Regions from separate parts of the Homo sapiens genome. Here region 2 is linked to region 1. Evidence: promoter capture Hi-C in human tissues and cell types (Jung and others, 2019). All regions are on one chromosome and are shown on one strand. Each heading gives the region's core, a stretch centred on a gene start or on the middle of the fragment in contact. The rest is flanking DNA. Distances are from core to core; before and after follow the strand shown.

Evidence for each region. The method cuts DNA at HindIII sites, captures the fragments that hold promoters and counts their contacts. A contact is called where the count stands out against the background at its distance.
Region 2: a fragment that was not itself captured here is called in contact with the fragment with the promoter of CD1D in region 1 in 1 of the 25 tissues and cell types used here (H1 embryonic stem cells).

What each region holds. Positions count from the first base shown.
Region 1 is chr1:158,177,604-158,183,906 of GRCh38, reverse strand. CD1D (CD1d molecule) reads right to left here and starts at 3,012. Exons shown (of 6, transcript NM_001371762.2): 1 at 2,745-3,012; 2 at 2,186-2,452; 3 at 1,597-1,875; 4 at 751-1,029. The coding sequence starts at 2,805. It also overlaps the pseudogene ELL2P1. RefSeq lists an enhancer at 2,482-2,541 and a silencer at 3,954-4,003. The HindIII fragment of the contact is 11,336 bases long and covers 1-6,303 here.
Region 2 is chr1:157,967,552-157,973,590 of GRCh38, reverse strand. No RefSeq gene overlaps it. Among named protein-coding and RNA genes, the nearest start is that of KIRREL1, 23 kb to the left of the region's middle. The HindIII fragment of the contact is 6,616 bases long and covers 1-5,268 here.

The DNA of each region.
Region 1 (6,303 bases), core at 1,763-4,262:
AGCACAGGACCCCTCTCTACATATATCCAATCCCCTGGTCTAGGCATGTGTGAGGGTACCAGGTGCTTCTTATTTCCTCCTCCACTTAAAACCCCAATTTCTATTCCTCATAAGTTTAGATTCCCCATCTTGTTTTCAGTGCCTGGGCATCCCAAATTCAGCCCACTTTGACATTTGCTAGTGTAGCATAGAGGGAAAGGGCAACAGCTTTGTAGCAAGGCAGACCTGAATCTAAATCCAGCCCGTCCACTTTCTATGTGGCTCCGGGCAGTTAACCTATCTCCGCCTTCATTTCCTCATCTATATAACGAAAAGAGCAGTACTTGCTTCAAAGAAAACTGTGAATGATGAGATGAGATATTATATGCAGATTCATTGGCCCCTACACAGGGAGCACTCAACCAACCAAGCTATCTTTGCTAACCTGCCTTCCCAAAGGCCTGGCTCCCTTTAAGCCAAGGAATGAATCGTCCTGGGATTGTTTATTCGCTGCCTACTTCTGGATCCCTGAGTTTTGTAGTCTTGTTTCTTCTTGTATATAGAGAGCACTATTTCAATCCTTTTAGACTTTCAGGTCTTTATTTCCCTCCTTCCTGTGTCTGGAACCCCTCTCTCTATCCTTTTACTGGGGGCCTCATCTCTGAAACTCCTCTAACCTGGGTATATCAAGCCACATCCCACCCCAGTGCCTCCCTCTATGCCTGAGGACCACCTCCTGCCATTTCCAGCTTGGGCCCAGCTTTTTCTCACCCCAGTAGAGGACGATGTCCTGGCCCTCTAGACTGCTGTGCTTCACCCGACAGGACAGGCCAGCTGCCTCCCCAGCCACCACATCCAGGGTTGCTCGGAGATACCATGTCTCGTCAGCATTGGGCAGGATGTCCCCTGGCTGAGTGCCCTGCTGCTCCTGCTCACCCCGCATCCACTTCACCCATACAGGCTTTGGGTAGAATCCTGAGACATGGCACACCAGCAGCAGACGGCCAGGGCCAGGACTGGGGCCACGGGACAGCCAGGCCTTGGGCTTCACTGTATCCAACAAGGGAATGGGGGGGATCTTAAAGTGAAAACTCTGCATTAGAGGCTCCAGGCCTCATATCATCCTTTTTGACTTTCAGGTCTTTATTTCCCTCCTTCCTGTATGCCCCTGACATGTTCACTTCTGGAAATGAAGTCTCCCACAACTTTCAATCCATTTGTCCCACCTTCTTCAGGGAGCCTGCCCTGATACTCCTTCTTCTTCTCTGGTCCCAGCCTCCTATGAATGCCCCTTGTCTGTTCCCCTATAACACCCTTTGTTTTGAAGTAACATATGTAGCCTATTTCAAGCATTGCATTAATTAACATCCCCCTACCAAGCAGGGATCCTAACTAACTGCCTGACACCTTTCACCCCCAGTTGTTCATTAATTGAATTCATAGAACCCAAGAGGTGCTCAGTTGATGTCTGTGAAATGAATAAATACCCTCACCCCTTATCCAGCCCCTCCTGGGCCTTCCTCTTCTTTGAATGCTCAAAGGGATGAGAACCCTGGAATGGAAAAGCCCGTTTGGAGCCCTGAAGTGGAATGCAGGGAGTAAGGAAGGCAGGCTGACCTTGCTTCTTCAGTTCCGACTTCCCTGACTCAAGGAGGCCACTGACAAATTGGGGGCAGGTGCCATTAAGGAGCCACTGCACTGTTTCCCTCGTCCACTTGTCCTGGTTGAGCACTTGAATGGCCAAGTTTACCCAAAGTGGGGCCTCTTGGGTTGGCTCCCAAGAAGTTCCTTGGAAACTCAGGATATCTTTTCCTTGAAATGCTACATGGAAGAAGTTATTTGAGGCGTTCCCAGGGTGCACCTCACAGCCAGCGGACACCTGGAGCTCCAAGGGATCTGTGGAGAGGAATGGAGAAAGATCAAAGAAGGGTTTAAAAGACTGGGAGAGATGAAAGAGAAGAAATTGATGTGCAGGTTATAATGGGGACCCAGACTTCAGGGAAAGGAAAGTAAGTGACCTGGAGTAGGCAGGAACGAGGGACACTTTGAGGAGTCAAAGCCTGGGACATCTCCAGGTAGAAGGGAAATCAGAAGAGGGTGGACAGAGCAGAGAATCTCATCAGGTGGTGCCACAGTCTCCCAGTTGAGTTTCTGTGGCCATTCTCTCCCCTTGGGTACCGGCCCAGGATCCTATCCCTCAGCTCACAGGATAAGCGTAGCATTTTGGCGAATTCCTTCACGTCCCTGGTGAAGCTGCTTCGATAAACCCGAAATATATGCTGCAGCGTCTCCCACTGCTGGTCGCTGAACGTGCCCTGGGACCAAGGCTTCAGAGAGCGGACGGTGTCCGAGTCGTTGCTCCAGCTGTGCGTCTGCAGCTCCCCCAGCCACGCCAAGCCGTCGGTGCGCGTCCAGCTGCTATTGGCGAAGGACGAGATCTGGAGGCAGCGGAGGGGGAAAAGCCTTTGCGGGACTGGGAGAGAATGAAGATTGGAGGCGTGTAGCAAGTGGCCGGGAGAGCAGCCAGCATAAAGAGAAGGAAGAAAGAAACAAGAGGAGATGAGCTTCAGGAGGCGGCTGATGCCAGCGAACTCTGTGCCGCGCTGCCTCTCCCCGGAGCCAGGGAGCAGCGAGTTTTCTACCTAGATCGCGCCAGTGCGTCCCGGGTCTCACCAGTCCCCATCAGGCGTTGCCCTCCCCGTCCCTACCCAGCTCCCTCTCTCCGCCCTCCCGCGAGTGCACTCAAGCGCCCTCGTTCCACCCACCTTCAGCGCTTCCCCAAGCCTGGAGGAGCGCCCAGAGCAGCAGAAACAGCAGGCACCCCATATCGCCCGGCGTGGGGACCTCGCGGAGCGCCGCTGCGCGCCGCCCTCTGACCTGCGCACTCTTCTCCCCCGCCGCTCAGCTCACGTCCCTTTCCGCTGGGTGCCAGCCAATTCCCAAGCCCAGACCCCGGCAGCCCTCCTCGCTGGGCTTGCCGGCGGTTTGCTGCTTCTGCCGAAGGGCGCCCTCGCCCTTAGCTGTGCGAGCTGCAAAGAGGTCGGGGTCCCAGGAATCCTGGCGCCGCCGCTCACTTCAGTAGGTTTCACAACCGGCGTGTCTCAATTTCCTGTTTCAAAGGAGACTTTGGGTCAACGTGTGGGACGCTTTACAACCATTATTTATGTTTTGGAAGCAGGACATAAGGTTGTGTCTGTGTTACAATTCCAACCATGGTAAAAATGCAAAGGGAAAAAAGGATCAAAGTCCTTGCTTTAGCAGTACATGTCTCTAGGTGGAAAGACTATGAGTGATCTTAATTTGCTTTACATCTTTATGTTTTCCAAAATTTCTCAAGTGCAAGTACCACATTTACAATAAAGTAAACGCATGAAAATTAATTTCCTCAGTTGCACATTGAGAGAACTGGATTAGGTTGGCTACAATTCTTTACAACTGTCATATCCCAGGATTCCTCCACCTCAGTGTTCCCTAGCCTCTCTTTCCTCCTGTCATGGTCCTTGCTCTCCCCTCCCCGGCCTCTGCTCTGTCTTCCCTGTCTCCTTTTTGGGGACGCGCCCCCAGACTCTCTTCCTCCTCTCCGCCCTAGGCTCTGCCGGCATACCTTCTCCTCTGGCTCCTGACTCATTCACTTTCCAAATATGCGCCTCTGTCTTAAACAGTAAGTGTAAGATGACAGTGTGTACCTGGACAGCCAACTCGCCACTTCTCACACTGAAAATAAGAAAAAGTGACCAAAAATCGTGGTTCTAAGCCTTAGCTCACCTGGAGGAAAAGACTCCTCTTTGGCAACTCAGAACCTGGGCTGCAGCCTGACACCTCCCTCTCCCTCACTCTTTTTATCCAATCTATCTCCAACTCATCTCTATTTCACTTCTTTTTGAATACCTCTTGAATAAATTCCTTTTTCTATATTTCCACCGTCACCATCACCCTAACCTTTTGACTGATCTCCTGAAGTAGCATTCTTGGGTAGAAAACAAAATCATTAGCACGGCCTGCAAGATTATGCGCCCTCTAGCCCTGGTGTCTACCTTTTGACATCACCTCACACCCCAGCATCATTTGCTCTGTACTGTAGCCTGGCTGTTAGCTTTCAGTTCCTCCACTATGCAAAACCTCTTCCTGACTAAGGTCTCTGCACAAAGTTCCCTCTACATGAAAGCTCTTGACCTTCTCCTCACCTCACCCCCTCCCAATGCCTAGTTATTTCCACTAAGGTATCAGTTCCAAGGTCACTTTCTCAGGGAAGTCTTTCCAGATCTGCCAGACTGTGTGACCCTAGGCAGGAGAAGTAGGGCAGTCCCAACCTCCACTGCTTGTACACTAACTGGCTTTGAGAAGCCATCCTCTCAGCATGTAGCAGAGTTTATAATTATAGAAATGGCCATATGTCTGTCTCCCTCTGTGTCCTCTTCTAAATCAGCTGGAGAGGTGCCAGAAGGCAAGGATCATGTCTCCATAATCTGATTCCTCCCATTCTGCTAACGTTAATGTTTCCCTTCTCCCATATCCTGTTGCAGCAAGAGTCCTAGAGAAAATAGGCTACTGCACCACACTCTAGGCTGGGATCTTGTAGACAGCCCTAACCCAGCCTATCTAATTATGTGTAATTTGCCCAAAAAAGCTTAAAATAACATAGTAACGTGTTCTTGTAACAAATAAGGTGTTAAATTATTAAATTTGGATACAAAATTGCCTAAATAATGGATAGGAGGGAAGCTATGAGAAATAAAAAGAAAAATAATTATATGACTCATGGGGCAATATTTTTAACTTTACTTTCTTCAAATTTCCAAGCTCCCTTTAAAAACTTGAACAGTTCTGTTTAGTTTTTGTGTATCTTAAAAATTTTAAGTGCTAACATTCTTGCACACTTAAAGACAAGAAGCTGGTTTGTGTGTGTGTGTGTGGTTTTTTTGTTTTTGTTTGTTTATCAACAGAGGCCAGGCTATATTACCTTCAGAAGTTAGGACTATCTGGAATTATACGGATATTTTTTCCCAAAGGTCAGTTGAGTTAGACACTTTTTGGCTATTGGAACTTTCACTGCTTTTTTTCTGGGAAAGGAACCATTGAATTATGAAACGTTTTGCAATATGTTACCTAAACAAAATATTTTATAACAAGACTGACTCAGAATACCCTAGCACAGAGAGATGGTGATTTACTCAGAGCCTTAAAATAAGCCCACGGTGGGTACTACATGATCTCACTTATATGTGGACTCTAAAATAGTTTACTATTTTATGGAAACAGAGTTAGGGTAGTGGTTTCCAGGAGCTGGAGGGAAGGGGCAAATGTGTTAATTTTGGTCAAAGGGTTTCAGCCTCTCAATTTTGAGAGGCTGACCAAAACCTTGGAGCCTGATCATAAGGGACTTACTTGGTTTCAGTTCAGAATTCACAATTCACAACGTCAAATTAGTTGGAATCTTATATGCTTTCTTCATGTTTTTGTTATCCTAACCATAAGGAGACCATTTAATGTACAAAGGATAGCTGCATATGAGAATTTAAGATTCTTGAGAGGACACATCAGGGAAACTTTTATAATAGCTATCAGGAGGATAATACCAACGAACTAAAGAACTCTTCTTAATAGCACTTTCCACAAGCCAACCTGATCAAAATCAAACAATTCAAAGTTCAGTCAATAAAGTTTAACAGCATTCAAGTGCAATTGCTCATAGTCTTTATTCAGAGCATAATGGTGATCAAGGACCGTAGTTTGCTGTAAAATGGCCTGATTTAAAGAGGTATTCATTTTTGTAAGTAGCCTGATAATACAAACCACAGTAACCTGGAGATCCACTAAAAGAAACATAAGGATTAGAAAACCTTGTGATAGCTCTCTTACCTCTCGGACGTCCAGTCCCAGGAGCAAAACTCCAGCGACTTTGGGCCCCGCCCCCGTGAAAGTGGAGGGCGGCCGATGAGGACGGTTCTGAGGGAACTAGACCAATGAGACTAGCCTGGGGCGGGGCGCGGGGCCAGAGGGTGGGGCAGGTGGCGGCGATGGCAGTCCGAGGTCTGGCTCCGCGCAGTATATGACAGTACGCCAGCAGCGGGATGGCCCTAGCAGTGGCGGCGGCTGCAGAAGCCCAAGCAGCTGCGGCCGCAGTGGAGGCTGGAGCTGGACTGGCGGCGGCGGCACCTCTGGGAGTTTAAGATGTCGGGGGTGGGGGGGTCGCGGGGCAGCGCTATGGGCTCTCGTGCGGACGGCTGGGGCAGGACAACATCACCGTACTGCATGTGAAGCTCACCGAGTCGGCGATCCAGGCGCTCCAGACTTACCAGAGCCACAAGAATTTAATTTCTTTTC
Region 2 (6,039 bases), core at 711-3,210, 210 kb after region 1:
GTTCAAAAAAGAATGTGAGGAAACACATGAGGAACAATGAGTATGGACAATGGTGTGAGACATTATGCTGTATAAAGAAGGAAATAAATGGGTGGTAACTACAGAGGGAAGTGGGGTCAAGATTTTTTCTTTAAGATTGGAGAAATAAGGATGAATATGGTATGGTCTGTTCTCAAGTTGCCATTAAGTCTAGCGGGAGACAGACCCATGGGCAGAAGAGATGACATAGAGCTGTTTACAGGGGTCTGTACCAATGCACCCCAGAGAGAATTGAAACTCTAGCCTAATTTGGATGTTTTGCTCCATCGGAATCTTATGTTGAAATGTTAGAGGCCGGGTGTGGTGGCTCATGCCTGTAACCCCAGCACTTTGGGAGGCTGAGTCAGGCAGATCACAAGGTTGAGGGATCTAGACCAGCCTAGGCAACATGGTGAAATCCCATCTCTACTAAAAATACAAAAAAATTAGCTGGGCATGGTGGCGTGTGCCTGTAGTCCCAACTACTCAGGAGGCTGAGGGAGGAGAATCACTTGAACCCAAGAGGTGGAAGTTGCAGTGAGCCAAGATCATGCCACTGTACTCCAGCCTGGGTGACAGGGCAAGACTCTGTCTCAAAAAAAAAAAAAAAAAGAAAGAAAGAAATGTTGGAGGTGGGCCTAGTGGGAGGTGTTTGAGTCTTGGGAATGGATCCCTCATGAATGTCTTGGTGCTGTCCTTGCAGTAATGAGTGAGCTCTCATTCTATTAGTTTACCTGACATCTGGTTGTTTCAAAGAACCCGGCACCTCCTCCCTTCTATCTTGCTCCCTTTCTTGCCATGTGATACACTGGCTCCCACTTTGCCTTCCACCATGATTGGAAGATTCTCGAGGCCTTACCAGGAGCAGTTGCTGCCACCATGTTTCTTATACAGCCTACAGAACTGTGAGCCAAAAGACACCTCTTTTCTTTATGAATTACCCAGCCTCAGGTATTTCTTCATAGCAATGGAAAATGGACTAACAAAAAAATTGGTACCAAAAAGTAGGACATTGCTATAAAGATACCTGAAAATGTGGAAGCAGTTTTGGAACTGGGTAACAGGCAGAGGTTGGAAGAGCTTGAGGGCTAAGAAGAAGACAGGAAGATGAGAGGGATTTGGAACTTCTTAGAGATTTGTTAAGTGGTTTTGACCAAAATGCTGATAGAAATATGGCCAGTGAAGGCCAGGCTGATGAGGTCTCATGGGGATAAGGAATTTATTGAGAATTAGAACAAAGGTCATCCTTGTTATGCCTTAAAGAACTTGGCTGCATTGTGTCTGGGCCCAGGAGCTAGGGAAGGTTGAACTTAAGACTGATGACCTAGGGTATCTGGCAGAATTTCTAAGCAGCAAAGCATTCAAGATGCACATGGCTGCTTCTAACAGCCTATTATCAGATGTGAGAACAAAATAATGACTTAAAATTAGAAGTTATAATTAAAAGGGAAGCAGAGCATAAAACTTCTGCAAACTTACAACCCTGGATGGTAGAGAAGGAAAGAGCATTTTCAGAAGAGGAACACAAGCTGGCTGTGGAGCAAGCACTTGCTAGAGGGATTAGCATGACTAAAAGGGAATCAAGTGCTAATATCCAAGACAATGGGAAAAAGGTCTCAAAGGCATTTCTGAAATCTTTAAGGCAGGCCCTCCCATCACAGGCCAAGAGGCCTAGGAGGAAAGAATGGTTTTGGACACCAGGTGCAGGGCCCTGCTACTCTGTGTAGCCTGAGGATACAGCTCCCCACATCCTAGTCACTCAAGCTGCAGCCTTGGCTCAAAGGGGCCAAGATGCAGCTCAGGCTGCTGCTTTGGAGGGTGTCACTATAAGACTTGGTAGCTTCCACATGGTGTTAAGCCTGCAGGTGTGCAAAATGCAAGAATGAAGGAGTTTTGCCAGCTCCCGCCTAGATTCCAGAGGATGTATTAGAAAGCCTGTGTGCCCAGGCAGAAGCCTGTCACAGGGACAGAACCCCCACAGAGAGACTTTACTAGGACAGTGCCAAGGGGAAATGTGGGATTGGAGCCCCCACACAGAGTTTGCATTAGGGCACTGGCTAGTGGAGCTGTGGGAAGGAGGCCGCTGTCCTCTAGACCCATGAATGGGAGAGCCACTGGCAGCATGCACCCTGAATCTGAAAAAGCCACAGACACTTAACTCCAACCTGTGAGAGCAGCCACAGGGGCTGCACCCTGTAAAACCACAGGGGTGGAGCTGTCCAAGGCCTTGAGAGCCCACTTCTTGCATCAATGTGCACAGGATGCAGGACATGGAGTCAAAGATTGTTTTGGAGCTTTAAGAGGTAAGGATTGCCCTGCTGGGTTTCAGACTCCATGGTGCCTGTTGTCCCTTTCTTTTGGCTGGTATCTCCCTTTCAGAGTGGAATGTTTACCCAATACTGGTATCACCATTGTATCTTGGAAGTAAATAGGTTGTTTTTGGTTTTACAGACTCATAAATAGAAGGAACCTGCCTTGAGTCTCAGATGAGACTTTGGACTTTTGATTGAGTGGATGCTAGAATGAGCTAAGACTTTTGGGGACTATTGGGAAAAGATGGTTGTATTTTGCAATGTGAGAAAACCATGAAATTTAGGGAGCCAGGGTCTGAAAGATATGATTTGGATGTTCTGTCCCCTCCAAATCTCATGGTGAAATGTGACCTATAATGTTGAAGGTGGGCCTGGTGGGAGGTGTTTCAGTCATGAAGGCAGATCCTTCATCAATGGCATGATACTGTCCTTGTGGCAATGAGTGAGTTCTCACTCTGTGAGTTCACATGAGACCTGGTTGTTTAAAAAAGCCTGGCACTATCTCCCCTCTCTCTCTTGCTCCTTCTCTTGCCATGTGATACACTGACTTCCCCTTTACTTTCCACCATGATTGGAAGGTTCCTGGGGTCTTACCAGGAGCAGATGCCAGTAACATGCTTCTTATACAGCCTGCAGAACCATGAATCAAAATATGCCTCTTTTCTTTATATATTACCCAGCCTCAGGCATTCCTTTACAGCCATGTGAAATGGACTAACAGAAATACTTTGAAAAGATAAGTCCTAAACCAAGTCTTGAAAGATAAGTGATTTTTATCCAGGGGAAGAAAGAAGGGAATGGTATTTCAAGTAGAAGGGAGAATATAAATCAAATCATGGAAGCTTGAAACAGCTTGTTGTGTGTGGAAATCACAAAGAGAGCAGCATTTCTTTTCAAGAGCTGAACTGCCTGGGTGTGACTCCCAGACTCTCTGCAAGATATGTGACCTTGGGCACATTACTAAACCACTAGGTGAATCAGTTTCCCCAGTCATAAAGTGGGGAATATCATAGTGTCTGCCTCATAGGGTTGTCATGAGAAGGAAACAAATCAATTCACGTGAAGTGCTTGGGACAGTGTCTGGCACATCGTAGATGCTCAATAAATGATAGCATTTCTTATCATTGGGTGCAGACAGTGAGGCAGGGATTAGATGGAATATGAGATTGAAAATGTAATTAGCTGGATGTAGAAGGTCTTGTATGCCATACCCAGGGTTTTGACTTTGTCCTGGCAACACCAGGAGCCACTGCAGGATTGTAGGCTAAGGAACAATATGATGGGATTTGGTGTTTCAAGTGGCTCACTATGGCCACCTAGTGGAGGATGGTCAAGGGGAGGAAATTTGGAGGCAGGTTTTAGAAGACCTGGCTGTATATTCTGGCTCAACACTTAACCAGTGTATGAATCATTTCCTTCTTTGAGCCTCAATTTAATAATCTGGGAAGTAGGAATTGTAAAACATATCCAAAGGGCTGCGGTGAGGAGAAAATTAAATAACAGAATGAAAGTCCCTAACCCAGTGCATGACACATATAAATAGGTTTGCAATGAATATTTGTTTTGATTTTAATATCAGAAATCTTACAAGAGAGGAGCAAAAAGCCTCACAGTTTCCCCATCTTTATGCTCTGTCCCACCAGGCCAGCTCTCCTTGCTTCTATAAATGTGCTAGAAACAGTCGAACTGGCTCACAGACCTACACGGTGAGTATCATCCTTACTCTCTCCTACTGCACTCTTCTCACCTCCATAGCTGTCCAGTTCACCCTGATTCAGTGGTCAGAACCCTGACCTCTTTCTAAAGCATCTGCCATATCCAAGGCTAAGACCACATCCACCAGGCTGGAAAGTGGGTAAGGAAAGCTTCTGATGTAACAAGTCTTTTCTTTGTCTGCTGATTGTCATCAGAGAGCTGTTGTTTTTCAATTGACCCTCACCACATTCAATACCTGTTGTTTTACACAATCTTTTTGCAGCACCTCTGTCTTATCTCCCCTAATAGTCTGTACGATTCTAGAAGGCACAGACTGCACAGTAAACATGTCTTAGGACCTGCCTCTTGCTCATGGCAGAGGCTTGCCAGGGAATGAATCGAATGAAGAGTTGACTGATGCTCACACAGTGCTGAAAGCCTGCCAAGCTGTGAATAAGTATGAGTTGGTTTGATTATGAAAGATGGGAAATCATGTCTTCTTTTCTAGAGTGGAACATAAAGCTTCCCAGCCTCCTCAGGCTTGCTCAGGCAGAGCAGGCAGAGCTGTGACCTGTGGGCCCAGAATTGTACCCTTGATAATCTAAATGACAATCAGCTTATTAAGCCTCACAGTCCCCTGTGCAAGCTGATGAAGGAGGGTGGGCGCCTCAGTGGTCAACAACCGTTCAGGGATCTCCTCCCAACAATGGCTCTGTGCCTCTACAAGGCAGTTTGAAACACACACAGAAAACCAGCCGATTTACACACTCTTCTTCCTGCTGTTCCCTTGGCACACATTTTGTGCTGACGTGACAGCCACAGGAACAGATGTCTGTTTGGCCTCTGGGGAGGCAGAGGAAACTCAGGCCACATCTGAAGCTCCTCCCCTTCTTTCCAGGCCACCTGGAACCCAGGCCATGAGTCATGTAGGACCAGTTCAGGGATATGGTCCAGGAAGGCTACAAGGAGTGGGGGTGATGACAGTTGGAGAAAAGAATCAAAGGCGTTGGCACGGAAGGGGAAGTTGAAGGACTCTCTGGCCCAGCTCTCGGGTCATTAAATAGTATTATTGCTCCGGTTTTGTAGTGAAGTAACTGAGGCCTGAGGTGGGTGAGTGACCTGAGCGAGGCAAACGCTCCATGTGTGTAGAGAAGAGAGAAGATGGTGGCAGCTCAGGCCTGCTGCAATGTCCATCACTGCCACCTGCTTCTGACTAAAGATGTCGGTGGTGGTGATGGAGAGGGGATATTGGAGAGGATGTTGTTACCTCAGACCAGGTTAACCAGTAAAGGTGAGTGTGCATACGTGTTTGTGGGTGTGACCTGCTCTTCAATACTCAACTTCAGAGGTCCACTTCTACAGGATACTACTGCTGCTGTCACACCTAATGATAATAATAATGGTAATAACAAAGGCCAACAGAGCGATTGAGCACTTACTATGTGCCAGACATGGTGCTCAGTGCATTACACAGATTACCACATTTAATCCTCTAAGAGGTTGTTCTTATTATTCTTACCCCGTTCCATAGCTGAAGAAAACGAAAGATAAGTTTAGGAACCTGCCCACAGATATACACTAGATTCTTGGTTAGATTGGGTTGCTATGACAAATACCATAGACAGGATGGCTTAAAAATCAGAAATGTATCTCTCACAGTTTTGGATACTGAAAGTCCAAAATCAGGGTGCCAGCAGATGGGGTCCTGAGCCGCTCTTCTGAGCTTCAGAAGATGGGGTCCTGAGCCGCTCTCTGAGCTTCAGCAGATGGGGTCCTGAGCCGCTCTCTGAGCTTCAGAAGATGGTGTCCTGAGCCGCTCTTCTGAGCTTCAGAAGATGGGGTCCTGAGCCGCTCTTCTGAGCTTCAGAAGATGGGATCCTGAGCCCCTCTCTGAGCTTCAGCAGATGGGGTCCTGAGCCCCTCTCTGAGCTTCAGAAGATGGGGTCCTGAGCCGCTCTCTAAGCTTCAGCAGATGGGGTCCTGAGCCACTCTCTGAGCTTCAACAGATGGGTCC